Regions from separate parts of the Homo sapiens genome. Here all the other regions are linked to region 1. Evidence: promoter capture Hi-C in 16 types of primary human blood cells and fetal thymus (Javierre and others, 2016). All regions are on one chromosome and are shown on one strand. The core of a region is centred on a gene start or on the middle of the fragment in contact, and the rest is flanking DNA. Distances in the headings are between cores, read along the strand shown.

Evidence for each region. The method cuts DNA at HindIII sites, captures the fragments that hold promoters and counts their contacts. A CHiCAGO score of 5 or more calls a contact.
Region 2: a fragment that was not itself captured here is called in contact with the fragment with the promoter of KRT82 in region 1 in 1 of 17 cell types (endothelial precursors); the score reaches 6.6 in endothelial precursors.
Region 3: a contact is called between a fragment that was not itself captured here and the fragment with the promoter of KRT82 in region 1, in 10 of 17 cell types (M2 macrophages, M1 macrophages, erythroblasts and 7 more). The highest score is 10.5, in M2 macrophages.
Region 4: a fragment that was not itself captured here is called in contact with the fragment with the promoter of KRT82 in region 1 in 1 of 17 cell types (endothelial precursors); the score reaches 6.5 in endothelial precursors.
Region 5: a fragment that was not itself captured here is called in contact with the fragment with the promoter of KRT82 in region 1 in 1 of 17 cell types (endothelial precursors); the score reaches 7.4 in endothelial precursors.
Region 6: a contact is called between a fragment that was not itself captured here and the fragment with the promoter of KRT82 in region 1, in 2 of 17 cell types (endothelial precursors and total CD4 T cells). The highest score is 5.8, in endothelial precursors.
Region 7: a fragment that was not itself captured here is called in contact with the fragment with the promoter of KRT82 in region 1 in 1 of 17 cell types (erythroblasts); the score reaches 7.3 in erythroblasts.

The regions. Positions count from the first base shown.
Region 1 is chr12:52,405,034-52,408,192 of GRCh38, reverse strand. KRT82 (keratin 82) reads left to right here and starts at 1,858. Exons shown (of 9, transcript NM_033033.4): 1 at 1,858-2,326. The coding sequence starts at 1,916. The HindIII fragment of the contact is 6,676 bases long and covers 1-3,159 here.
Region 2 is chr12:52,817,103-52,820,731 of GRCh38, reverse strand. No RefSeq gene overlaps it. Among named protein-coding and RNA genes, the nearest start is that of KRT4, 4.8 kb to the right of the region's middle. RefSeq lists an enhancer at 2,012-2,513. The HindIII fragment of the contact is 1,770 bases long and covers 469-2,238 here.
Region 3 is chr12:52,890,132-52,893,735 of GRCh38, reverse strand. No RefSeq gene overlaps it. Among named protein-coding and RNA genes, the nearest start is that of MIR9898, 7.0 kb to the left of the region's middle. The HindIII fragment of the contact is 2,470 bases long and covers 738-3,207 here.
Region 4 is chr12:52,779,816-52,783,206 of GRCh38, reverse strand. No RefSeq gene overlaps it. Among named protein-coding and RNA genes, the nearest start is that of KRT76, 4.2 kb to the right of the region's middle. The HindIII fragment of the contact is 1,580 bases long and covers 730-2,309 here.
Region 5 is chr12:52,708,020-52,711,314 of GRCh38, reverse strand. No RefSeq gene overlaps it. Among named protein-coding and RNA genes, the nearest start is that of KRT77, 6.1 kb to the right of the region's middle. The HindIII fragment of the contact is 2,732 bases long and covers 82-2,813 here.
Region 6 is chr12:52,797,599-52,800,990 of GRCh38, reverse strand. No RefSeq gene overlaps it. Among named protein-coding and RNA genes, the nearest start is that of KRT3, 3.2 kb to the right of the region's middle. The HindIII fragment of the contact is 5,805 bases long and covers 1-3,392 here.
Region 7 is chr12:52,907,713-52,910,957 of GRCh38, reverse strand. It overlaps a transcript of KRT8 not described here. Among named protein-coding and RNA genes, the nearest start is that of KRT8, 4.3 kb to the right of the region's middle. The HindIII fragment of the contact is 423 bases long and covers 1,440-1,862 here.

The sequences.
Region 1 (3,159 bases), core at 609-3,108:
CCCTCTGCTCCTGAGCTCTGGTTCTGGACTCCAGGAGCCCAACATGCTCACTGAGGCCCTCCTCTGGCCTGGACATGGCGGGGAGACTCTGCTGTGTCCACTGCTGCAGTGACCCCTGCCCTCCGGTGCAGCTCACTGTCTCCCTCACCCCCTCTAGTGGGAATCTGCTCTCTGGTGGGGCCTCTGAGTGTCTCCATCAACATTCACACCATCCTGGGCCCCCTCTGTGGACTCAGTCCAGGGAAGAGTGTGGTCTTCTTCCCCTGACACCCTGCAATTGGACCCCCTCACCCAACCTTCTGCCTCCCATTGTGGCCTGTGGTCTCGCCTTGCACCCCTCCTCCTCCACTACTCTGGGGCCCACAGTCAGGACTATGAAAAAGGGGACAGGGAGTGTGAAATGTCACAATGAGACTGAGAATTTCTGAGGCTCAGGAAACCTTTGAGTTCCAGTCTCCTAATCCACAGGTTGGAAGGCTGACGGACAGGGACAACAGAACATTTATGGGCAGCAGATTCCCAATTCCTCACCTGGGCTTCCCTGCTGTGGAGCAGCATGGCAGGGTGAAGTCAAAAGGAACAGGATGGACTCCCAGCTGATCAGCCACAAGCTGTGTGACTTGGGGATGTTGCTCTTAACTGCTGTGCTTCCCATTTTCCTGTCTGTGGCATAGTAACTATCTCATTGTGTGGTCAGAGAATTAAATGAGACCATGGATGTAAAGAGTACGGAGTGGTCCCAACACACAATAAATGCCCAATAAATGTTTATTATTGTTATTATTATTATTATTGGTTTGATTTTGACCTGGTGATAAGTCTCAGTGTGGAAGGGAAAGGCCATTCGGCCATGGCAAAAGTTTCACTGATGAAATTGATGGAAAAGAGGAGGAAAGAGAGTGAGGCGGGGGCTTCAGACATCTCCAAAGAGCTGTGTCTGCGACCTGAGCTGGAAAGAAAACCTGAATCCCACCTCCACCTGAAAATTCCCAAGGGCAACAACTCTCCCCAGAGACATCCTCAGGCCAAAGCTGGCTCTGTTGACCTCAGGGACACTCAGGCTGGGTTGGGCAAAAGGGGAAAGGAACAGCCACATGGAAGCCGAGACCTGATGCTGAAATCATGCCTTCTGGGGGCCCCAGAAGTGTTGAGGAGAGCGTCCCTTCCTCTGCCCTTCTCAAGCACCAGGCCTCTCCTCTTGAGTTCCCTGCAGCCTTTGTGGACTGATGGGCCCTGTAGAAAAGTGTCTATGCCTGGAGTCTGTCTACCTTCAAGACCCTCATGGGACAGTGGGTCACTGAGCCAGAGCTCAGGAGGGTTAAGGTCCGGCCTGTTGTAGGGAGGATTCTCCCACCCCAAAAGCCTTCCTCCTGGGAACTTCCTGACTCACCTAGGAGCCCACAGAGGGCACTTGGGTTGAGGATCTGCAAAAAAGCCTAGGAGCAGCCTTGGGGAAAGAGCCAGAGCATCTTTAAGCATATGGGACTTGCCCTCTAATCCCAGAGAAGCCAGGGTGTATAATTCATGGCACGCCTCCCCTCCTATGAAATGACGTAGTCCCAACTCTCCCTTTCCTTGAGGCTGAGCCACTGGATACATGGAACATATCTGTCTGGTTGGCCCCTTTCATCACCCCCACAATCAAGGAAGGAGGACAAATAGGATTTTTATAGGGCCCACCAGCACTGACCATTGGCCCCTTCTCTTTGCTCTTCGCTACCCTAATTATCCACCTTGCTACTTAGCTCTGCCAATATCCCAAGCTCATAAACCTAGTTTAATGGTGATTTGGGGTTTGACACATCTCAGTCCTCCATCCCCCTACCAGATAAAAGGGGGGAAGCTGAGCCTGACTTGATCATCCTGCCCCGGTTCTTTCCTCCAGGGCCGCATTTCTCTGCCTCTCTCTCCTGCCATGTCGTACCACTCTTTCCAGCCAGGCTCCAGGTGTGGCAGTCAGAGTTTCAGCTCATACTCGGCTGTCATGCCCCGGATGGTCACCCACTATGCAGTGAGCAAGGGGCCATGCCGGCCCGGGGGTGGTAGGGGCCTCCGAGCTCTGGGCTGCCTTGGCTCACGGAGCCTGTGCAACGTGGGCTTTGGGAGGCCCCGGGTAGCCTCCAGGTGTGGAGGTACCCTGCCTGGCTTCGGGTACCGACTGGGAGCCACCTGTGGGCCTTCTGCCTGCATCACCCCTGTCACCATCAATGAGAGCCTGCTGGTCCCACTGGCACTGGAGATAGACCCGACTGTGCAGAGGGTAAAGAGGGATGAGAAGGAGCAGATCAAGTGCCTCAACAACCGTTTCGCATCTTTCATCAACAAGGTAAGGGGGCAGTGGCCCAGGGCCGTGAGAGGACCCACTGCAGATCTGGGGTCTGGTCTTGTTCTGGTCCAAGGGAACCAGGAGGAGACTGACATTGAGGAGGCCTCAGTTTATCCAGTGGCCTCCCTCACATTCCACGACCACCAGCCTTTGAAAGCCAGTTAGATCAGATTCTGCACTAAACATTTCTGCTTCCTTGTCTTTCTTAAAATATATCATCTTTCTCTGAATATTATCTGACAAAATCACCAATCACCAAGGTTGCCTGAGGTCAGACTATAAGAGGAACTTCCAAAGCAATACTGAAAGGAATGACCAGAGAGGCAGAGAAATGCCCTTCCTGATGAGGCTTTAACAGTAGAACCGCCTTCTGTGTGCCTGAGCTGTGTCACAACTCTTGAGCCTGAAGGTGAGGATGGACACTGTGACCTCAGAGTTTCCAATCATTTTAGGCCTGGGATGAGAGGAAAGTGGACAGTCAGAGCTAGAGGCACAGGGTGACGGTCACAAAAGTCTTACATCTGTCATCTCCAGAGCCACTGAAAGGCTGCTAGGAAGGCATGCCTTCAGAAGGTGCTGAACTGAATCTGCACCCACTGCAGGAACAGTGCAGATTCCCACATCTACAGCACAGCACCCACTGCAGGAACAGTGCAGATTCCCACATCTACAGTATAGCACCCACTGCAGGAAGAGCGCAGATTCCCACATCTACAGTACAGCACCCACTGCAGGAAAAGATGTGGCATGCCTTCTGAAGGTGCTGAAGGACTCAACAGCCTCTGGGTCCATCCCACGCCCCAGGGAGGCTCTTGGGGTGAGGATTCATTCCA
Region 2 (3,629 bases), core at 104-2,603, 410 kb before region 1:
TTCACGCTCACAGAAGTGACCTCTCATGCTGTAGTCATCCAGCTGGCTGGAGGTGGGTCAGTAGTGTCCAGGGCTGCAATTTCAAGCCCTCTGTCCTGTCACCCCAGAAGCTACCTCCGTCCTACTCCTGCCTCCATCACTCGCCAAATCTTACTGCTCCTCCCTCCATGCGTCTCTTGGTATCACCTTCTTTCCTCTTCATCTCCACAGTTCTCTACTTTGAGTCTGGACCCCACTCCTCAAGCTGTACCCAAGTGATTCCCCAATTGGCTGGCCTCTCAACCCTGCACCTCTCAGGCCCTCCCCACCCTGCTACCAAACCAGTTGGCCCGACCCGAGGCTGTCACCACTCCGCTCCCTTCCTTGGCAACCTTAGGGCTCCTGGCAGTTGCTGGGATGCATCCCACACTCTTCCGGCCTGATCACTCTGTCCTCCTCAGAGGAGCCCCGAAGAGCCCTGAGAAAGCTTCCTCCAGGGCTGTGGAAGGCCAGCAGAGGGATTTTCAGCCAAACCCTAACCTCCAGCTTAGGAACACAAAGGCCTAGCGGTTTAGGGTCAGCTCTGCCTCACCAGCTTGGGTGGTCTCTAGCTTCCCTTCTCAGACAGATGGAGTATAGTCCACCCCATGTACAACACTTTGAGGAATACTTGCTAATGCTCACTGAGTGCCAACTGTGTGCCAGAACTGCTGTCAAGCCTTTAACTGATTCTCTTCACAACAGCCTATAATATAAATACTATTATCATTCTAATTTTGCCTATAAGGAAAATAAGGCACAGAGTGGTTAAGTAACTTGCCTAAGGTCACACAGCTAGGAAGTAGCAGAGCTAGGTGTGGAATCCAAGCAATCTGGTTCCATAGCCCAAGCTCTTAAGCACCAGGTTATTTTGCTTATATAGAAAAAGGAATGGAGACCTGGGGATGCTGGAGCTAGAAGGGGCATTGGATGTAATCGACTCCAAACTTTTTATTTCATAGATAAGAAAACAGGTTGAGGAAGGGGAAGAATGTATCCAAAGCCACGGTAACTTAGTGGCAGTGTTAAAAAAAAAATCAGTTTTAGTGAGATCATAGGCCAGGTGTTGTGGCTCCTGCCTGTAATTCCAGCACTTTGGGAGGCTGAGGCAGGTGGATCACTTGAGCCCAGGAGTTCAAGACAAGCCTGGCAACATGGTGAGACTCTGCCTCTACAAAAAAATACAAAAATTAGCTGGGTTTGATAATGCATACCTGTAGTCCCAGCTACTTGGGAGGCTGAGGTGGGAGGATCACTTGAGGCTGTTGAGGCTGCGGTGAGCTGTGATTGCACCATTGCACTCCAGCCTGGGTGACAGAGGGAGACCCTGTCTCAAAAAAATTATATTTAGGGCTCAAAAACTGAACAATAGAAACTTTTGATTGTCATGGAAAAAAGCCTCAGAGATTATACTGCAGCCCAGGGGGGCCCACCAACAATAATGCGCTGCTTAGACATACTTGTCGAAGGAGGGGAATGGCCCAGACCCAGGGGTTTCCAAACTGAGGACCCTAAGGGCTGCTTTCAGGGGTGCAGGGGGAGGTCAGCAGGTGAGAAGGATCATGGTCCCTCCTCTGCACCAACTGGATCATCTCTCCTTATCTGTTTTACTCATGAGGCTGTGCACGTGATTTTGTTTATGAGGGTGCTTTTGCTGCCAGAACATGCTGGGAAGCCCCTGCCTGTATATGCCTGGGGTAGGAGGCCAGCAGGGGCAGCTCTCCGGCCCGGGGAAAGAGGAGCCCCTGGGTACAGACCCCCATACCTGGCTCTCAGGAGTGCCCGTCCTCTCATTGCCCTCACTGGCCTCTCCCTAAAACGCTGATGGCCCTTTTCTGCAGAATCTCTGATCCCCGTGTTGTCTCTGGTTCCCCAAGAATGACTCAGGCCCGGTGGGGCAGTTGAGGTTGGGTGACCGAATGGAGTGAGGGTGCCCGCCTGGCCAGGGAGGGCAGGAGCACTTTCCCACACCACACAGTGGGTTTGGAGATGAGAGTGACAGAAGCCCTCAGGATCCCTTAATCCCAGGGCTGAATGTAAGGGCTTGCCTCCCTTACCCAGAAAGCCCTGAGCAAACACTCCCTCCGCCTGGCTCCACACCCCTGTCGGCTGCTCATCCCTCTGTGAAAAGATTGGGAACAGCTGCCAAACAAGGAAGGGTCACCGAGGGCAGTAGCAGAATCTGCGTGTGGAGGTCTGGGGAGGGGCAGGGGACAAGCTTCCAGCTGTGGCTGCTGGGTAGTGGCGCCTTGTTCAGCCACCTGCCTCTGGCCCACATATGAAGGCAATGTCTTTCCCCGTTTTCAGGGAAAGAAACTCATCTCTCTTTCTCTCTCACTCTAGGGTGTAAAGGCGCTCTTGCATAGGAAGTTCTTCCTTAGGTCTACCTTCGGTTTCTCAGGCTCAGTTTGAAGATTTTGTGAGCTTCTTGCAATTCTGATTTAATAATAAGGACACAGAATGTGGCTCTAGACTAGAACTTTCTTCTTGTTTGGATTGGGTTTATGGTAGGGTTTGTCATGAAATTAATTTGGATTTAGTTAATTGGAGGATACAAAACTGGCCCCTCAGGACAGTGTCATACCTTATTGGGTACTTGTAAGGACAGGGCCACATCAACCAAGCAACTGACCATGTGCTGAGGGTAAGGACAAAAAGGAGCGGAGCTGCATCTGCAGAGCTTGCAGCCTGCTGGCCAGACCCCATGGCTGTCTTGGTGGACCATGAGGTACAGGGCTGTATAAGTTGCTGTGTATTTTTTTCCCTGCATATTCTGTGTGGGCCAGTCACTCATATAAAACATTATACCTACCGTTTTATACATTGTAAGGTCACAAGCTTTGAAGTCAGACAGATAGTACTGACTTCCTATCTCTACCACTTCCTGGCTGTGTGATCTCAGGCAAGTTACATACCCCTCTGAGCCTCAATATCTGCAGCTCCAAACTGGACATAGCAAAGCACCTCTTTGACTGGGTTGTTGGAAGAAGCACCTAGTGTTCAGCATATAACAGTAGTTCCAAGAGAGAATCCCTTCTACCCAAGAGGCACCGCTGCCTTTCCTTCATCTTCCTTCTTGTATCAGCGATGGCACACCTCAAGTCACCTTCATGAGAAGTACCTCAATCGTAGCTCCATGGTTTGGGTGCCCCACAGGCACAAAATAAGACTGATTACATATTCTATATTGTTTCCCTGAAAATCCCCTTGGCTCCTGGCTTGCTTTTTGTTCTAAGCAGTAGACACAACTCTAGGGGCAGTGAACCCATGCCATTTTCTCCTAGTGTTGGAGTGTTACAGCCATAGAGTAAAAGACCCAATAAGCACACTATGAGCCATCTCAGGGATTCACTTGTGCTCAGGCAAAGCCTACCCCGGCCTGTGATAGTCCCCATCAAATCCCAGGGGCTACCAGAGAAGAAAGCAGTGAACGGCAGGTGCAGAGGCTGAGGTGAGGCAGCCGGGGGGTGAGCTCCAGCCATCACTCAGGGTGAGATCCTGATGGCCCTGCCATGTCCTCTGGGGCAGGTAACCAGTCAATTGGACCTCAGCTTCCCAAGTGGGAGGCTCACATGTCTCCTCAGCTCCTGCAGCTGCAGCCCGCAAAGACC
Region 3 (3,604 bases), core at 723-3,222, 490 kb before region 1:
TAACAAATACATTTTATATATAATTCTTTTTTTTTTTTTTTTTTGAGACGGAGTCTTCGCTCTGTCACCCAGGCTGGAGTGCAGTGACATGATCTCGGCTCACTGCCAGCTCCAGCTCCACCTCCTGGGTTCACGCCATTCTCCTGCCTCAGCCTCCCGAGTAGCTGGGACTACAGGCATCTGCCACCACACTTGGCTAATTTTTTTTATTTTTTAGTAGAGACGGGGTTTCACCATGTTAGCCAGGAGGCCTCGGCCTCCCAAAGTGCTGGGATTACAGGTGTGAGCCACCACATCCGGCCTTTATACATAATTCAAAAGTACAAGAGGACCCTTCCCCAGTCAGCCAGTTTCTGTTCCAGAGGGCAATTAATGCTACCAGTTTCCTGTGATTCATTCCAAGTAGAAGTTATTATATATAGTTACATAGGGACATACATGCATACATTTCTATCTATCCTTCATGAAGGGTATTGTACTATATGTGTTGTCACATGCCTTGCTTTAACATTCACCCAATACCTGTTCCTTCCATATCAGTATACAAGTTGCTTCTCCACTCTTTTTCACAGCTGCATAATATTCCACTTTGGGATGTGCCACAATTTACTTAACCAGTCCTCTATTGGTATTTGCTATGACAATGGTGAGGATATCTTAATAATTCCTACAAGTGGAATTGCTGAAGCAAAATGTGTGCACATTTAAATTTTAGTAGACTTTTTGTTTTTAAAGCTTGATTTCCTATGGGACTGAATTTTAGTTTTTTAGAAAATTTACATGTGTAGAAGAAGGTTCCTGTTTGACTATTCCAGATGAGCCAGCCATTATCCCCCACTTCCCTCCACCCTGCCTTTCCCGACCCAACCACCCAGGATTAAAATGATGAGTCTTCCAAGCATTTGTGGACTCTTCTGAAGATATTTTAATTCCAAGGTTTTGCTCTGCCTGCCCGCTGATCTGGGCTAAGGTGGTCTAGGAGCTCCCCTGTAGTAGGGGGATCTGAAGGTGGGCTAAGGACCGAGGGCCAGGCTGACTGGAGTGTAAGGTGGTGGGAATGGAGGAGTGAATGTTAAAGCAAGGCATGTGACAATGCGGACAGTACATACCCTTCATGAAGGATAGATAGAAATGTGTGCATGCATGTCCCTACGTAATTATATATCATAGATTCTACCTGTTGGGAAAGGAAGAGGAAGCACCACTGCAAGGAAAGGAAGGCAGGGAAGGATACCAGCATGGTGGGTGGCCCCCTAGTTCACTCTCCGCGCTGCCCTTTTACACATTGTGGTGGGCATAGTTGCTTTGTCTAGCCAGGACCCCTTCCCCCTTCTTCTAGTAATGCAAAGCTCCCCCACCTCCACTCCTGCCACGCCCCACTTCTTTTCAGGAACTGTTCCTCCTAAGATCACAGGACCTCTGTCCAGGCACACAGGGTTCACAATGGGCCAGCCTTGGCCAATCACAAGTCCCTTTGTTTCCTCCTTGCTGAGGCATATTGTACATACAATAAAATGCAAAATGTGCTTTAATGGGGAATGTACAACCTGATGAGTTTTTTTATTTTTATTTTTATTTATTTTTTTTGAGATGGAGTTTCACTCTTGTTGCCCAGGCTGAAGTGCAATGGCACGATCTCGGCTCACTGCAACCTCCGCTGCCCAGGTTCAAGCGATTCTCCCGCCTCAGCCTCCTGAGTAGCTGGGACTACAGGCATGCGCCACCACGCCGGGCTAATTTTGTATTTTTAGTAGAGACGGGGTTTCTCCGTGTTGGTCAGGCAACTCCCGACCTCAGGTGATCCACCCGCCTCAGCCTCCCAAAGTGCTGGGATTACAGGCGTGAGCCACCGTGCCCGGCGCCTGATGAGTTTTAACTTATGTTCACACCTGTAATGTAGAACATTTCCTATATCACAGAAGGTTCACTTGGGCCCCTTGCCAGAGTGCACTTTTTTTTAGTAGACTTATTTTTTAAGAACAGTTTTAGCTAGGCGCTGTGGCTCATGCCTGTAATCCCAGCACTTTGGGAGGCTGAGGCGGGTGGATCACGAGGTCAGGAGATCGAGACCATCCTGGCTAACATGGTGAAACCCCGTCTCTACTAAAAAATACAAAAAAATTATCTGGGTGTGGTGGCAGGCGCCTGTAGTCCCAGCTACTCGAGAGGCTGAGGCAGGAGAATGGTGTGAACCCAGGAGGCAGAGCTTGCAGTGAACTGAGATCATGCCACTGCACTCCAGCCTGGGCGACAGAGAAAGACTCCGTCTCAAAAAAAAAAAAAAAAAAAAAAAAGAAAAAAAGAGCAATTTTAGGTTCATAGCAAAATCGAGCAGGAGGTAGAGGGTTCTCATACACATTCTGCCCCTACACCTGCATCCCACACCAGAGGGCTACATTTGTTACAACATCATCAACATCCCACCTCAGAGGGATACATTTGTTACGATTGATGAACCTACATTGACACATCATTATTACCCACAGTCCATAGTTCACATTAGAGTTAACTCTTAGTGTGGACATTCTGTGGGGGCCATGTAGCCACCATTACAGTACCATACAGAATAGTTCACTGCCCCCAAAATCAGAGTGCATTCTCAAAAATATGAATCAGATTCAGTTACTTCCTTATATGGAAAACCCTTTATTTTTATTTTATTTTTTTCTTTTCTTTCTTTATTTTTTATTATACTTTAAGTTCTAGGGTACATGTGCACAACATGCAGGTTTGTTACATATGTATACATGTGCCATGTTGGTGTGCTGCACCCGTTAACTCGTTAACTCTTCATTTACATTAGGTATATCTCCTAATGCTATCCCTCCCCTCTACCCCCACCCCACGACAGGCCCTGGTGTGTGATGTTCCCCACCCTGTGTCTAAGTGTTCTCATTGTTCAATTCCCACCTATGAGTGAGAACATGCGGTGTTTGGTTTTCTGCCCTTGCAATAGTTTGCTCAGAATGATGGGAAAACCCTTTACTTTTGACACCCAGAATAAAGCCCTAAATCTTGACTTGGCCCACAGGCTGTGCCTACTCTTCCTCCTCTGAGGCCTCATCCTGGCCACTCTGTCCCTTGCTCTCTGATGCAGTGGTGCAGGCTTTTCAGGGCATAGCCTACATGGAATTTGCTTCTGCTCAGGGCATTGCATGGCTGGCCCCCTGCTTGGAACACCCTGCCTTTCCTAGTCACTCCCAAGCTTTCCGCTCAAACGCAGCTTCCCCAAGAAAGTCTTCTGACACCACAAGACAAGACAAAAAGTTTTATGACACCACAAGACAAGAAAGTCTTCTAGACACCACAAACTGAGTGGCGTGTTTCTATGATAAGTTCCCAAGGCACCCTGTATTTTCTCCTTGTAAATTACAGTCACTCATTCATCTGCAGAGGTATTTTATTAATATCAGCCTTTCCCCATACACTGTAAGCTCCATGAGGGCAGGGACACACCATATCTGCTTGGTTCTCCACTGATTCTTCAGTGTTTAGCAGAGTGCCAGGCACATAGTAGGTGGTCAATAAAAATTATCAAATAAAAAGGAATGAACCATTTCCATATTGATAGCCATCTTTTTTATTTTTTTGAGACAAAGTCTCT
Region 4 (3,391 bases), core at 270-2,769, 380 kb before region 1:
TGCCTGTAATCCCAGTACTTTGGGAGGCCGAAGCGAGTGGAGCACCTGAGGTCAGGAGTTCAAGACCAGCCTGACCAACATGGTGAAACCCCGTCTCTACTAAACATTCAAAAATTAGCTGGGTGTGGTGGCAGGCGCCTGTAATCCCAGCTACTCGGGAGGCTGAGGCAGGAGAATCTCCTGAACCTGGGAGGCAGAGGTTGCAGTGAGCCTTGATTGTGCCACTGCACTCCAGCCTGAGCAACAGAGTGAGACTCCGTCTCAAAAAAAAAAAAAAAAAAAAAAAGTGAAAGAGAAGATTGTGGCTAATCATTCCTGTGGGCCAAGTGGTCAACTCCAACATCTAAGACCCAGCAAGCAGCTAAGCTCAGCGCAAACTCCTGGCCTCTTGCTCTTTCTCCAACAGGGTGAAGACCTTTTACATTGCAGATGATGGAGCGGCTCTTGTCATCTATAAATTCCATGCACACCCATGTGTTCTGTCCCTGAGAGACTGTCCTGACCAGTGCCTTGGTGGCCCTGGCTAGCATGGTAGGTTGCACATGGCTGGTGTCCAACCTATCATGTGGTGGTCAGGTGGAGAGAATATTGGTGGGTTCTTTACATGTCAAAGTGGACTTTTCACTTTGGGATGGTGTAATTTGACTTGCTGAAAGTCTATGCAGAAGAAAAGCATTCACGAATTTACGACAGGCTTTGGGATTGGACAGTCTGATTAAAATCCAAGCTTGCAAGTGAATTGACTTGAGGCAAGTTAATTAACCTCATGCCCTTATCTGTAAAATGTGAATGAAAATTCCTACCTTACAAAGTTTTTGTGACAATTAGAAATGACACATGTAAACAACCTGTCAGTGACTTGTATATGTTAGGCAGTCAATGTTAGCTGTTTTAAAATTCTATTCACAGATGGGCAATAGGAGTTAAGATTTGAAAGAGGAAATTGTTTTCACTGAAACATAGTCCCCACACCTCTAAAAAGTATGTAGTAGATCAATAAGTATTTGCTGATTGATAGATTGCATTACTGACGAGGCCCTGTAGTGGGAAAATGGCTTGGCCAGACATGGGAAAATGGCTTTTATGTAATTCTCAATACAGACAGTATGATTCTTTGCAACTTGTTGCAAAATAATCAAAGACTTCACTGTTGCCTTGACCCTAAACTGGGCTACCCCTTAGAACTCCTCCTTCCTCTTCAGCTTCCAAACTGACACCTTCTAGGAGGGCTTCCTACATTGACATCATCATCACAAGGGCTGCCAAGTGTTGAGCACCTGCTTTGTGTAAGGGTTTTCCAACTTTACCTCCTACAGTCCCCACTGCAACTCTATGAGGAGGCTGTGCTAACTCCCATTTGCTGAATGGGAAACTGAGGTCCAGAGGGTAAAATGTCTTGCCTGATGCCATGCAACTGGAAAGTGGCAAGGCTGGGATCTGAACACAGGCTCGTCTAATTCCAAGGCTTCCATATTTTCCACTCTTTCAAGCTGCAAGGGAAGAGAGGAGGAGATGAAGTTATTTGAGTTCCAGAAAATCCAGCATGCCCATGAAATATCCACGGTTTTTGGAAATATTCAGCCAAATCCATTTATTGGTGAGAAATATTCATTGACAGGAGAGCTTGTCTTTAGAGAACCTGTTCAGTTTTCGGCGTCCCAGTGCCCTTCTTGCTGCATCTTCAACCCCAGGCCTTAGTCTGCTCTCAGTTTCCTGCTATCTCACTTGGAGCAAGTGCTTTCTCTCCAGGGATGAGGAGCTCACTTGGAGCAAGTGCTCTTTCTCCAGGAATGAGGATGTCTCCTTATGCCCTAATCCTCTGATTGGTCTATCTGCACTGGTCTATCTGCACATTCTCATCCATCCTGGATGGCTAGTTGGACTAGCGTTTCCCGAGTATACTTGACAGCATGTTAGTAGATGTTAAGATAGAAAGATTTTGTTGTTAAATTTGGGAAGCTGTGATTAAATTAAGGCAAAGACATTATTTTCTATAGGACTTCTTTGGGCTTTTAATATACTAAACAACTTTACTAAAATCCCAGGAAAGAGCTATAGATTTTTCATTTCCCAAATTTATGTAATCACAGAACCTTTTAATCAGGGCCATCTTGGGAGATAGAATTCTGCCCTGCATAAGCCCTGGGAGAGATCCAAGTACCAGATAAAGAATGAGGGGTGAGCTGGTGTGTATTTTAATCAAGTGTAGAGATAAGACCAGAATCAGAACAAATTGTGGTTGCTAACAGCTAAGACCTTAGTAACATAAGGACTTAGTTGTACTTAGATGTTTGCTTCTTTATCAAGCTTTCACTATAAATCTTGCTCTATATGGTAATTATTTTTACTGTTCATTGGTTAAAATTGCTTCACTAGTGACAAGCTTTTATTTCAACAAGAAAAGAATGCTAATTCCTAGTCCAGGGGCAGCATACCCAGAACGTTAATTATTCTTTTTTTATTTTTGAGAACAAATTGGTGATTATCTTGAAAATGGGATCTGCGAACCTCCATGGAGAAAGAGGCAGCAGCCATGGCTCCCTCATCCTCAGCAGATGGTGGTGGAGAGGGATGACTGCTCACTTTGGCCAAGGATAATGACTACTGTCTCATGATGCATTCCTCCACTCATAATTATGTTACAGGCAATCTGAAGTCTTCTCACTGCAGTTGACTACCAGAGAGCAATTTGGTTAGAGGGAATAACTCCTTGGTTTTAGTGCCCCCAATTTTATAGGTGGGGAAATAAAAATCCAGGGTGCTCAGCCATCTGGCAAGCTTTACACAGAATGTTCTGGCAGTGAGGGATTGGAACTCAGATTGCTGGCAGTAGGCAGACCCTTTAGATACTGTTCTGAAAGATCCTACAGTGAATGAGGGCAATGTTGGTGAGGATAGCAACTCTGGGTATTTCCAGCAGCTCCATTCAACTGCTGAGAAGACAATCCCCATCTGCTAAATAAGGTGATGCTTTGGCAGGCTCATGCGACATGGATTAGGCGACCCAGCCCAAACCCGCGCTTTTGTGATCTGTGCATCACCTTTCTCCACCACGCTTCTCCAGCCTAGGCCAGGGTGGCAGAGGTGAGCCACACATCAGAGGCTGCCACCCACCACCTCAGTACTGCAGCCAAGGGAGGGAAGGGAATCAGAGACATTTATGTCTGTTCTTGTTTGCTTCGGACTCTCACCTGGAGCTTCAGCTGAGCCTGGCTCAGCTTTCTTTCCAGGAAGAGCATGTGATCTTCTGCTTTTAAAGGATCCAGAGGATATGAGGAAAGACCTTACCAGGAGGGGCTGTCATTCAATTGATGGGTGGAGTATAAATGTCTCATGGAAGAACTCAACATGAAATCCTCTTCCTGGATTATCTGTGGATGAATGATGTTAA
Region 5 (3,295 bases), core at 198-2,697, 300 kb before region 1:
GACAGAGGAGATACTTTTGGCTTGTTTCAAACTCATCAATAAATTGCCATCTTCCTTTAAATAGATGATTAAAGAAAAGCTTGTCTGCATCTTTTATATGATTTACAATATATTACAGGGCCACAGTTTCCTGCTTATGGTGACTTTCTAATTTAAGGGAAGCTGGATGGAAAATGCAGTTTGGTTAATAGAAATTTACTTTTGTAATAATGTAATAATTGCTAAAGTAGATGATCTCTTGTTATTTGCCTGACATGTGCTGAGCTTTTTCTGAATTAACCCATCTAATCTTCACAGCCCTGTGAGGTAGGCAGTGTTATGGCCTCTGCTTCACAAAAGAGGAAATGAAAGCGCAGAGAGATGAATGAACTTATCCAAGGTCATGTAACTAGAAGGGATGGCACCAGGATTCAAACTCCAGAAGGCCTAACCTCAAAGCCCTCCTAAATTGCCCCATAAAGCAGAAGATAAGATAGTACAGCAAGAAACTCTCAGGCTTTGGAACCCAGCTGCTAGGTGTAATCTGGGCCCACTCCTTACCAGGAGTGTGTGACCTTGAGCCACCCTCCAGACCCCTCACCCAAAAGTCATCAGTAAAATGCAGTTGTGTGGATGGAATCATGTCATCTGTTTAATTCTTGGCACATTGTAAGAGCTCAATAAAAGGTCATTACTAATTATGGCCAGTGTTTCAGGAACCTGTCTATTCTTTAAATGAAGAGAATAATACACTGCAAATTCCTTATGGTTATAAAGCACTGTAATCTCTCCCATCATGGTCAAGTGAGACACGAACCTGGAATTGATGGCAGGTCTCATATTACCCTCAGGGACTTGGAATGCTGGTCCCACCCCACCACTAACTACCCCTGTAACCTTGAGACTGGCCCGTCCTCTTTGATCCAACATATAGAAGCATTCTCTGCCCAGACAGCACCATTCCTCCGCTGGGACCTCACTGTTTCTTTTGGAATTCAATCCAAGTCTAACCTGTAGCCTTATTTTCCTTTGGGGCCACACCTGCCTAGCTGCTCCCTTTGCTTCAGAGACAAAAGAGTTGCCAGGCTGAGGCACAAGAATCACTTGAACCCGGGAGGTGGAGGTTGCAGTGAGCATTTCAGCCTGGGTGAATTATAAACAAATAAATGGTTGTATAAATAAATAAATAAATGATTGTATAAATAGTCATGACTTCCAGTATGTTGGATGGAAGAGCTTTGACACGCTTGGCACAATATTGTCTCTGGACCTTTGCCGTGGGAATTTGCAAGCTGCCCTTAGTGAGGCCTCTAGACAATATCCAGGCCCAAAAGCACCTATTGGGTTTGCCGAGAAGGAAGGAGACTGCCCGATTCTTATGCTCTAGGCAGACACTGAGATTCTAGTTAAAGGGATGTCAAAGTGGTGTCCAGGCTAGTTTTGGGCCTCAGTAGGAGCTTAAGGCCCTAGGTGTTGCCCCAAACACACACCCCAACCCAGAAATCAGAGGATTCACCAGGGATGTTCCTGTGTGCCTGGCACCACCTTCTCATGCCTGCGTGCAGGCTTGTTAGAGATTGAAGGTGGAACGCCCCATATAGTCATCTCTCCCAGGCTGCAGGAGCACAGAGGCACCTGGGAATTTCACATAGGCCTCCTTATTCTTTCTGAATTCGGGGGAGGGTAGCCAAGTTCTCATTCTATCTGCACCACCAACTTTTTTGGGTAACTTTGGCCAAGTCCCTGTCTTTGTACCCATTTCTTCCTTGTAAAATGAAGGACTGGGCTGATACCGTCCATCATATGTTTGGCTGTGATGCTGTTACGCAGGAAGAAGAGTGGGCCAAGGGTGGGGAAGCCAAGTCTAGCAGCTTCTATTCAGCTCCAATAGGTTTCTCTCCGATATGTGTCACATCACTGCCTCCCCTGTGCTGACGACAGGTCAAAAGGCTCTCATTTCAAGGAGGTTAAAGGCCCCCATTCCTAGACCGGGGCTGCAGCTCTCCACTCTCTTCTTGGTGGGGACTGGTGAGTGAGAGTCTCTCTCCCTTCCTTTTTCCAGCCCCACGCCCCTGACACACCTCTGTGATATCCACCTCCAGACCCTGGGAAATGTAGGGTGAGGTGGGGGATAGAGCTTTGGGAGCTGCTCCTGCTGGTCATGCCAGCAGCTCTTCTGAACCCTGCTTCCCGCTGCTGTCTGGAACTGTGATCCAGGTGGCTGATAGTTGCTCTGGGCCTCACCTTCTTGGCAGCCCTGGGTTTCAGTAACTGGGAGATGGGCTGGGTGAGCTGCAGCCTTCAACTAACTTCCCACTTTCCTTTTAAGGTGGCAGGTGGGGAGAGGAGGAAGCGGGCACATCTCTCTCCAACGACCCCATCTCTTCTGCAATACATGTAGGTTCTGAAGTGGGAATGCGCGGGTTCAAATCTCCATTCCACTATTTTCATTAGTGTATTCTTTGACAAGATTCTCTTTCCAAGTCTCACTTTCTCCATTTGCAAAATGAACATAGTAAGAATATCTTCCTTATGATGTTGGTATTTAGATTTCACGAGACCTTCCATGTTATAGACAGCACAGTGCATGGTCCATGGAAATCACCTGGTGAAGTTCACTATTATGATAATGATTGTTACTCCTATCTGTGTCCTTAGACTGAATGGAATCTAAAGAGGCTGTTTCATTTGTCCTGTTTCCTCCAGGTCAGTGGTCTCCAAACTTGCTGCACATTAAAACCACCTTTTAAAAATTCTAAAGTCCAGACCATAGCCCCAGACCAATTAAACTCTACTCCTTAGGTGTGGGCCCAGGCACCAGCGATTTTGAAGCTTTCTAGGTGATTCCAGTGTGAGCCAGTTTAGAAACCGCTGCTCTCTGCAGTCTAACCAGCTGAGGAGTTTCTTTTAGGGGTAGTGATTCGTCCTAGGAACATTATTTACCCACTAATATTGATCTGAGTTGAAACACTTCCTTTGAGACAAGCAAAATCTCTCGTGCTTCACTTTAAGTCATTTTTTTTTCTTCTGAGGAAGTAGAGCATAGCTATCACCCTCCACCAAAAGCTCAGTTAGTGGGTGTGTCCCTCCTCCCCTCCCAAGCCCTTCAAGGGATGACAACAGCCCAGCAGGGGCCATCAGCTGACGGGAGGTAGATGACAATGTTGGCATTGAATGCTGAAAGCTGATCATAGACAGAGATCAAAGAAGCTTCCTAAACTCTGCTGTCCGGGACTTCCTTTTTTATGTTATCACAATGGAATATTTTCACATTCAGCATGACAGTATATAGAAACCTGGGCGAGTGCTGAACAAA
Region 6 (3,392 bases), core at 116-2,615, 390 kb before region 1:
GGAATCTTATGTAAATAGAGGCTTATTCAGGGCAAACCTTTTTTTTTTTTCATTTTTACTGTTATGTTTATTTTCTCTGTAAGTGCTTTGTGAATGCTGTCCCTTCAGTTTATTCTTACAGCAGGACAAGGAAGTGAGTTATTTAAAACTAGGAAGCTGGCTGGCATGGTGGCCCATGTTTATAATCCCAGCACTTTGGGAGGCTGAAGTGGGCGGATTGCTTGAGCCTAGGAGTTCAAGACCAACCTGGGTTACATAGAGAGACTCTGTCTCTACAAAAAAAATAAAAAAAGTGTTAGCTGGGCATGGTGGTGCATGCCAGTGTCCCAGCTACTTGGGAGGCTGAGGTGGGAGGATGGCTTGAGCCTGGGAGGTTGAGGTTGCAGTGAGCTGAGATTGCACCACTGCACTCCAGCCTCAGCAACAGAGTGAGGGGCTCTCTCTCTCTCTCTCAAAACAAAAACAAAAAAACAAAAACAACCCCCTGCCCCCACCACCAACAAACCCATGCCTTACCATTCCTCCTCCCCAGGCAGGATTGATGGAAGTCAAGAGCTAAAGAAGGGAACAGAATCTTAGCTTGCATTGAAAGAAGCACAGTGCCCCCATCACAGACAGGAAGGGGCTTCTTATTAGTTCTGGTGCACATGAAGCCACCTTAAGTATCCTATCTTAGCAAGGCACTGTAGTTTTAAGAGGTCCATTAACATATTAAAGTGGGTGCAGAGAAGATTCCCGGAAACCATCTGTACTGAGGACTGGGAGAAACAACTGGGTCTATCTAACTGGGAGGTTGGTGTCTGTGAATTCCACAGTATTTTCTAATATTGGAAGGGTTGTGATACAGAAACCAGGGGAGTGTGTGTGTTTTACTATGGAAGGCCAGGCAAGAGCAAATTCATCGCAACTCAGTTCCCATCTGCTGAAGGCCTGCCAGGGCCACAGGCTGATGGACACAAAGGCAGGGAAGACAGGTGGTAACAGTGCTCAGTGGGGAATCTCAGCTGGGGGCAGGTGTCCAGCCGTGGAAGGGGCAGGACCTTGAGACCTGAGGCTGAGAGGCCCCAGTTAGGGTTGCTGTTGTGTCAGGACTGCAAGGATTCTGAGAATGCACATGGATGCAAGTGTCTCTCGACTGAGTGAATAATGTGTCTTTTTATGTATATGTATTACCACTTTCAAATGTATATGACTATGAACTGCACTTTTATTTAAAAGTGTTGCTAAATTCATAGTAAAAAATGTATATTCTCAAAGGATACTGGAAGTATGAGTTCTGACATGTGTGAAGGTCAATGTAATTTTTTGTGTGTTAAAAGGGGCCTTCACAAGCAGAGAGGTATGGGTGCCATGCCATGACGGACAGGTGACTGGGCCTCCTGCTGCTGACCACAACTTCACTGATCCTTTAAGAGGAGTTAGGCTCCCATGAAATGGAGTGGAAGGCACGAAAGCTAGATCCTTGAAGACCTTCCTTGGGTCAGGGTGGGGTCTTGCTGGCCTGGGCAAGTTAGGAGATTTGATGAATCGCCTTCCATGGGGATCCTGAAGAGTAGGAGTGGCCAGGTGAATTCTGCCTCGAGGTAGAGGAGTGGACTGGAGAGCCTCCTGGCCGTAGCACCCTATGAGTCTCGATTTTACACATTGCAATCCAGTGACTCACTCTTTTCTCCAGGGAGTAAACACTTAGGGCGCTTAGTTAATAAACTTCAGATAATTCAAGTGTTGGGGATGACTGTAAACCAACTCTGTTTTCTCAAAGTGTTTATTAGGCCCTACAAGTTTAGAGGGATGGGCCCAACCAATAAGAATTTCAACTCACTGATTATCTCCTCCCCTTCCACCACTTCCTTCACTCACAGCTCTGATCAGAATTGACAATCTAGTCCCACGAATGTATTCCCCAATCTTTGTTTTGCTCCCTGTCCTCTCAAAGGTCAAGCCATGTCTTCTCTGCTATCCCAACCCCAAGAGTAAGTATAGATTATGCCCTTCTTCCTTTTTCTTCCACCATCTGCTGGGGAGGTCCCCGACCCAGGACTAGCTGATGACAGCAGTGGTTGTGATGTTGCTTCTCAAAGATTCTTCTCCAAGATAATTCCCTCTAAAGGAATGACAAGCATGGCTCAGAATCAGTGGGCTCTGGCAATGACTAAGATCTCCCCCCATTGGGGCACTAAGTACCCTGAATCACTATGGGTTTAGGAATTCCTAGAGACTCATTGCCCTGGACTCTAGACCCCACACCAGACCAAGCAGCAGCCTCATTTCTGTCTGGCATAAAGGCAGGTCCTCCATCCTGCTCTCTTAGATATTATAAGGAAAAATATGGTCTAATTTTTGTGATATGTTTCCTTTTTTCTTTTTCTTTTGTTGAGAAGGGTCTTGTTCTGTTGTCCAGGCTGGAGTGCCATGGTGCAATCATAGCTCAGTGCAGCCTTGACCTCCCAGGATCAAGTGATCCTCCGACCTTAGCCTCCCAAGCACCTGGGTCTACAGGCACATGACACCACACCCGGCTAATCTTTGTATTTTTTTCATAGAGATGGTGTTTTGCCATGTTTCCAAGGCTGGTCTGAAACTCCTGGGCTCAAGCAATCTGCCCACCTCAGCCTTGCAAAGTATTGGGGTTACAGGCGTGAGCCACCACATTTGGCCTTGTGATATGTTTCTTAAAACACTGGCAGATATTTCATTCATCTAGCTATGTTCCTGTGAGATCTAGAGGGTCAGAGATGATTGATCATCTTTTATGGTTAATGATGCTGAAATGCAGAGAATTTAAATAGCTTTGGTCATGCTTAGTCATGGGGAGGATCTGGTCTAGCCCTGGGTTTGGTTCATTGCCTTTGAGGGAGCAAAGAGGAGAGGAGCCTGTGTGGCCACACTCTAGGCCTGGGCTAACTTCACAGTCCATGGGCAGAACTTGCAGAAAATTAGGGATATAAGTCAGAGATGCTGGAGAGGGGATCCCAGCAATGAACGGGGCAGATTGTGTGACCTCAAATGTCCAGTCAACTTCAACTTGATTCTGTAATTGATTGATTCTTGATTGATTAGTTCTTGATTCTGTGATTCTACATTTTTTTCCCCTGAGGAGGTGACACTCATTTTGCATGTAAATTTTTCTAAATCTGAACACCAAATTTGAGAAGTCTGGATTCCTCACATTGAAATAATCTCAATTAGCTTGTGCTACCTCATGCAATGGGAGTTGAACTAGCTTTCAACCAGTTTTATCTGGTTGTAATCCAGTATAAGGGCTTAACCATTAGTCATTAATAATTAATTGATGGACTAATTCATTTTTTCAACAAACCAAACTTTATGGCACTTACTATTGGCAAAGCACTGTGCTTTGGTTCAAGGCACCCAGTATATTAACAAGACTG
Region 7 (3,245 bases), core at 402-2,901, 500 kb before region 1:
AGACTACTGCCTGATAAGCAAATATGTGGATAAATGAAAAGGTGAATACAGGAAGGAATAAAGGCCTCTAGTCCCTGTCCCCAACTCCCACCTTAGTCCTCAGGTTGCCCAGCAGGAAAATCAAAACAGTGGGCCTCTGGATATCAGCTCCAGTGCTAAGCAGCTCAGGCCAGGGGAATCCTCAGGGCTGGGGTGGGGGTGGGCAGGATGCCTATAGCGGAGCCCCAGGTCCTTCCTGTTTGTTCTTTTCCTGCACTCCTGTCCGGTTGCCTGAACACCATGAGGGCTTCCCCTATCGCAATGTCAGCTTCTGAAGTTTCCTTGAAATCCTCTCAATAACTTCCACTTCCTGTCACTCAAGTCCCCAGTACCGCTGTCTTCACTGTCAGGAGTGGGACCCATTTGTGTCTGTCCTCTCGCAGTCTCTGTCTCTGTCTCTGTGGCCCTGGCCAACGGTGGTGGAGTTTCAGGTTCTGGGGACTGAACCACTCTGTTTTCCTTCCTGAGGGACAGAGTATATCACCCTTTCTAAGCAGGAACCTGCAGTGCTGTGGATTTGAGCTCTGGCCTATTTCCTCTGGGAAGAGGAAGAAAGTGTGTTCCTAAAGGTCTTGGTGTTGGGACCAGAGCTAAAGCCTGGTGCCTGACTCTGGCTGTACCGAGGAAGCTTTGAAAATGCAGACGGGGTGCGACCTGAGCACGTATACTGTTATAATCTCCCACGGGCGATCTTGATGTGATGGAGAACCAGAGTTAAGGGGAAGGACTCTGTGGACTGAGCCATAGCTGGGACCTTCCGCCTAGGCTTCATGCTCACCCAGTGGGATGACCTTCTTGGTTTGGCATCAGTGGAGAGGAGGGTGAGAGAATGTTGAAAATGTGAGAAAGGCTGTGTGCAGTGGCTCACGCTGTAACCCTAGTACTTTGGGAGGCTGAGGCAGAAGGATTGCTTGCATCCAGGAGTTCGAGTCAGGCTGGGCAACATAGTGAGATCCTGTCTCTAAAAAAAAGAAAAAAAAGTGTGGGAGACCTCAACATCTTCAGGCTGCTGGGCTTGTGTCTCCTTCCTCCACAACAAGGCTGTGCTGTCCTCCCTCACTCTTGTTCTAATAATTTCTAATCATATCTCTTATCACAAGCAAAATTTCAAACCAGAGAACATTCACAGATTTTCATCTTCAGTGCGTAAAGCTCTATGGTGGTGGATGTGGATCAAAAGCTTTCAGAGTTGGCGGGACTTGGACATTCTAATTCAAACCCTAGCAGATGTGAGAACCCCCTCCCACTGAGCCAGTGGACAGCTGGTGAGCAAGGTCCCTCTCCATGTCTCCAGGTACAGGAGGTTGCTCCCTCTCTAGGCAGTCCATTTCCATCCTGGCTGGCTTTAATCATCAGATCCATCACTGATCAAGAGCAAAAAAGTCAGCATTTGCTAAGCTTTGACAATGAAAAATTTTAGCCTTGAGGCACATAACACAAAATTAGCAATCGAATTGACTCTATTATTCATGATGCTGCTTCCTGAGGGGTGTACCCACCACCTGTGGCTTCCTATTTAAACAAATTGTTCTGCTGTCTCTATGCTAAATGCAGCTATTTCTATACCAATAATAACATTTCAAAATGCTCCATCATTTAAAGGGATTTCGGGTGCTTTTCGGGCATTGCCTTAACCCAGAGGCAGGAAGCCTCTTTACCTGGGGCATCTAAACAAACTCTTTGCTTCTTTCCCCTGACCCCTTATGCTGGGCACAAAGCCCCTGCTTTTTATATGTAGCTCATTTATGCTTTTGTGGTTATCTTTTTGTTACAACTTTGTTGAGCTGTAATTCACATACAATATAATTCAACAATCTGAAGCTTGCAGTTCAGTGATTTTTAGTATGTTCACAGACTTGTGCAGCTTCACCATCATCAAATTTGTTTATTTATTTATTTATTTTTGAGACAGAGTTTCACTCTGTCTCCCACGCAGGCTAGAGTGCAGTGGCACAGTCTTGGCTCAATGCATGCGGCCTCAACTTTCGGGGCTCAGGTGATCCTCACAACTCAGCCTCCAGGGCAGCTGGGACTACAGGCGTGTGCCGCCATACCTGGCTAATTTTTGTATTTTTTGTAGAGACGGGGGTCTCATTATGTTGCTCAGCTGGTCTCAAACTCCTGGGCTAAAGTAATCCTCCTGCCTCGACCTCCCAAAGTGCTGGGATTATAGGTAGAGCCATTGTGCCTGCCCACCACCATCAAATTTAGAACATTCTCATCACCCCAGAAAGAAACCCTGTGCTCTTTAGCATTCATCTCCATTCCTCCCCTCCCTAGGCAACCACTAATCTACTTCCTGTCTCTATGCTTTGCCTGTTGTGCACATGTCATATAAATGGAATCATAGGGTACCTGATCTTCTATGACTGTCTCCTTTCACTGAGCATACGGGTTTCAAGGCTCATCTGCATCCAACATGCATCAGTAGTTCATTCCTTTTAATTGTAACATTAGATCGTATGGATATGCCACATTAAAGAAATCCATTCGTCATTTGGTGGACATTTGTTTTGTTCCCACTCTTTGGCTATTATGAACAAGGTTGCAGCGAATGAGATCATCAGTCCTGATCTCTAAGCAAAACTTGTTCAGATCCCGGGAGGCGGAGCTTGCAGTGAGCCGAGATTGCGCCACTGCACTCCAGTCTGGGTGACAGAGCGAGACTCCGTCTCAAAAAAGAAAAAAAAAAACTTGTTCAGACCATCTCTTCCCATGATCATGAGTGATGATAACAGCTACCTCCCCACCCCACTGGCCCCAAGACTTAATGCCACTGCTCAGGGTCTCAGGGCCTTCTCTGAATTATCCTGCACCATCAGAAGTAGGGGGCCTGGCCCTCACTCTTGGCCCACAGGGAGTGAGTGTCTCCTCCTTCCCTGGTTCACTCTCCAGGAAAGGCGGTTTGAGGCAGAGTTGTCTGGGTAGGGCAGGCACCGCAAACACGTTGTTCCCTTTTGTCCGGCAGGCAGCTGTGTGTAGACCACAATGCCTTACAAGGAGTTGTACCTGTGGGCCTGCTCCAGTCTGGTTCTCTCTTCCCTCACCACTTGGCCCTAGTCCCAGGGGCCTTCTCCTTCTGCCTTTAACCCTGAAGTCCCAGGCAGGGGCCATCAGAGAGGCCAACTCTGGCCTCTTCTCCTGCACCGAGGCTGTGCTTGGGGCATCTGGGGGAAGGTTTGGCTGGGGTCTCTGGGCAATAGAGA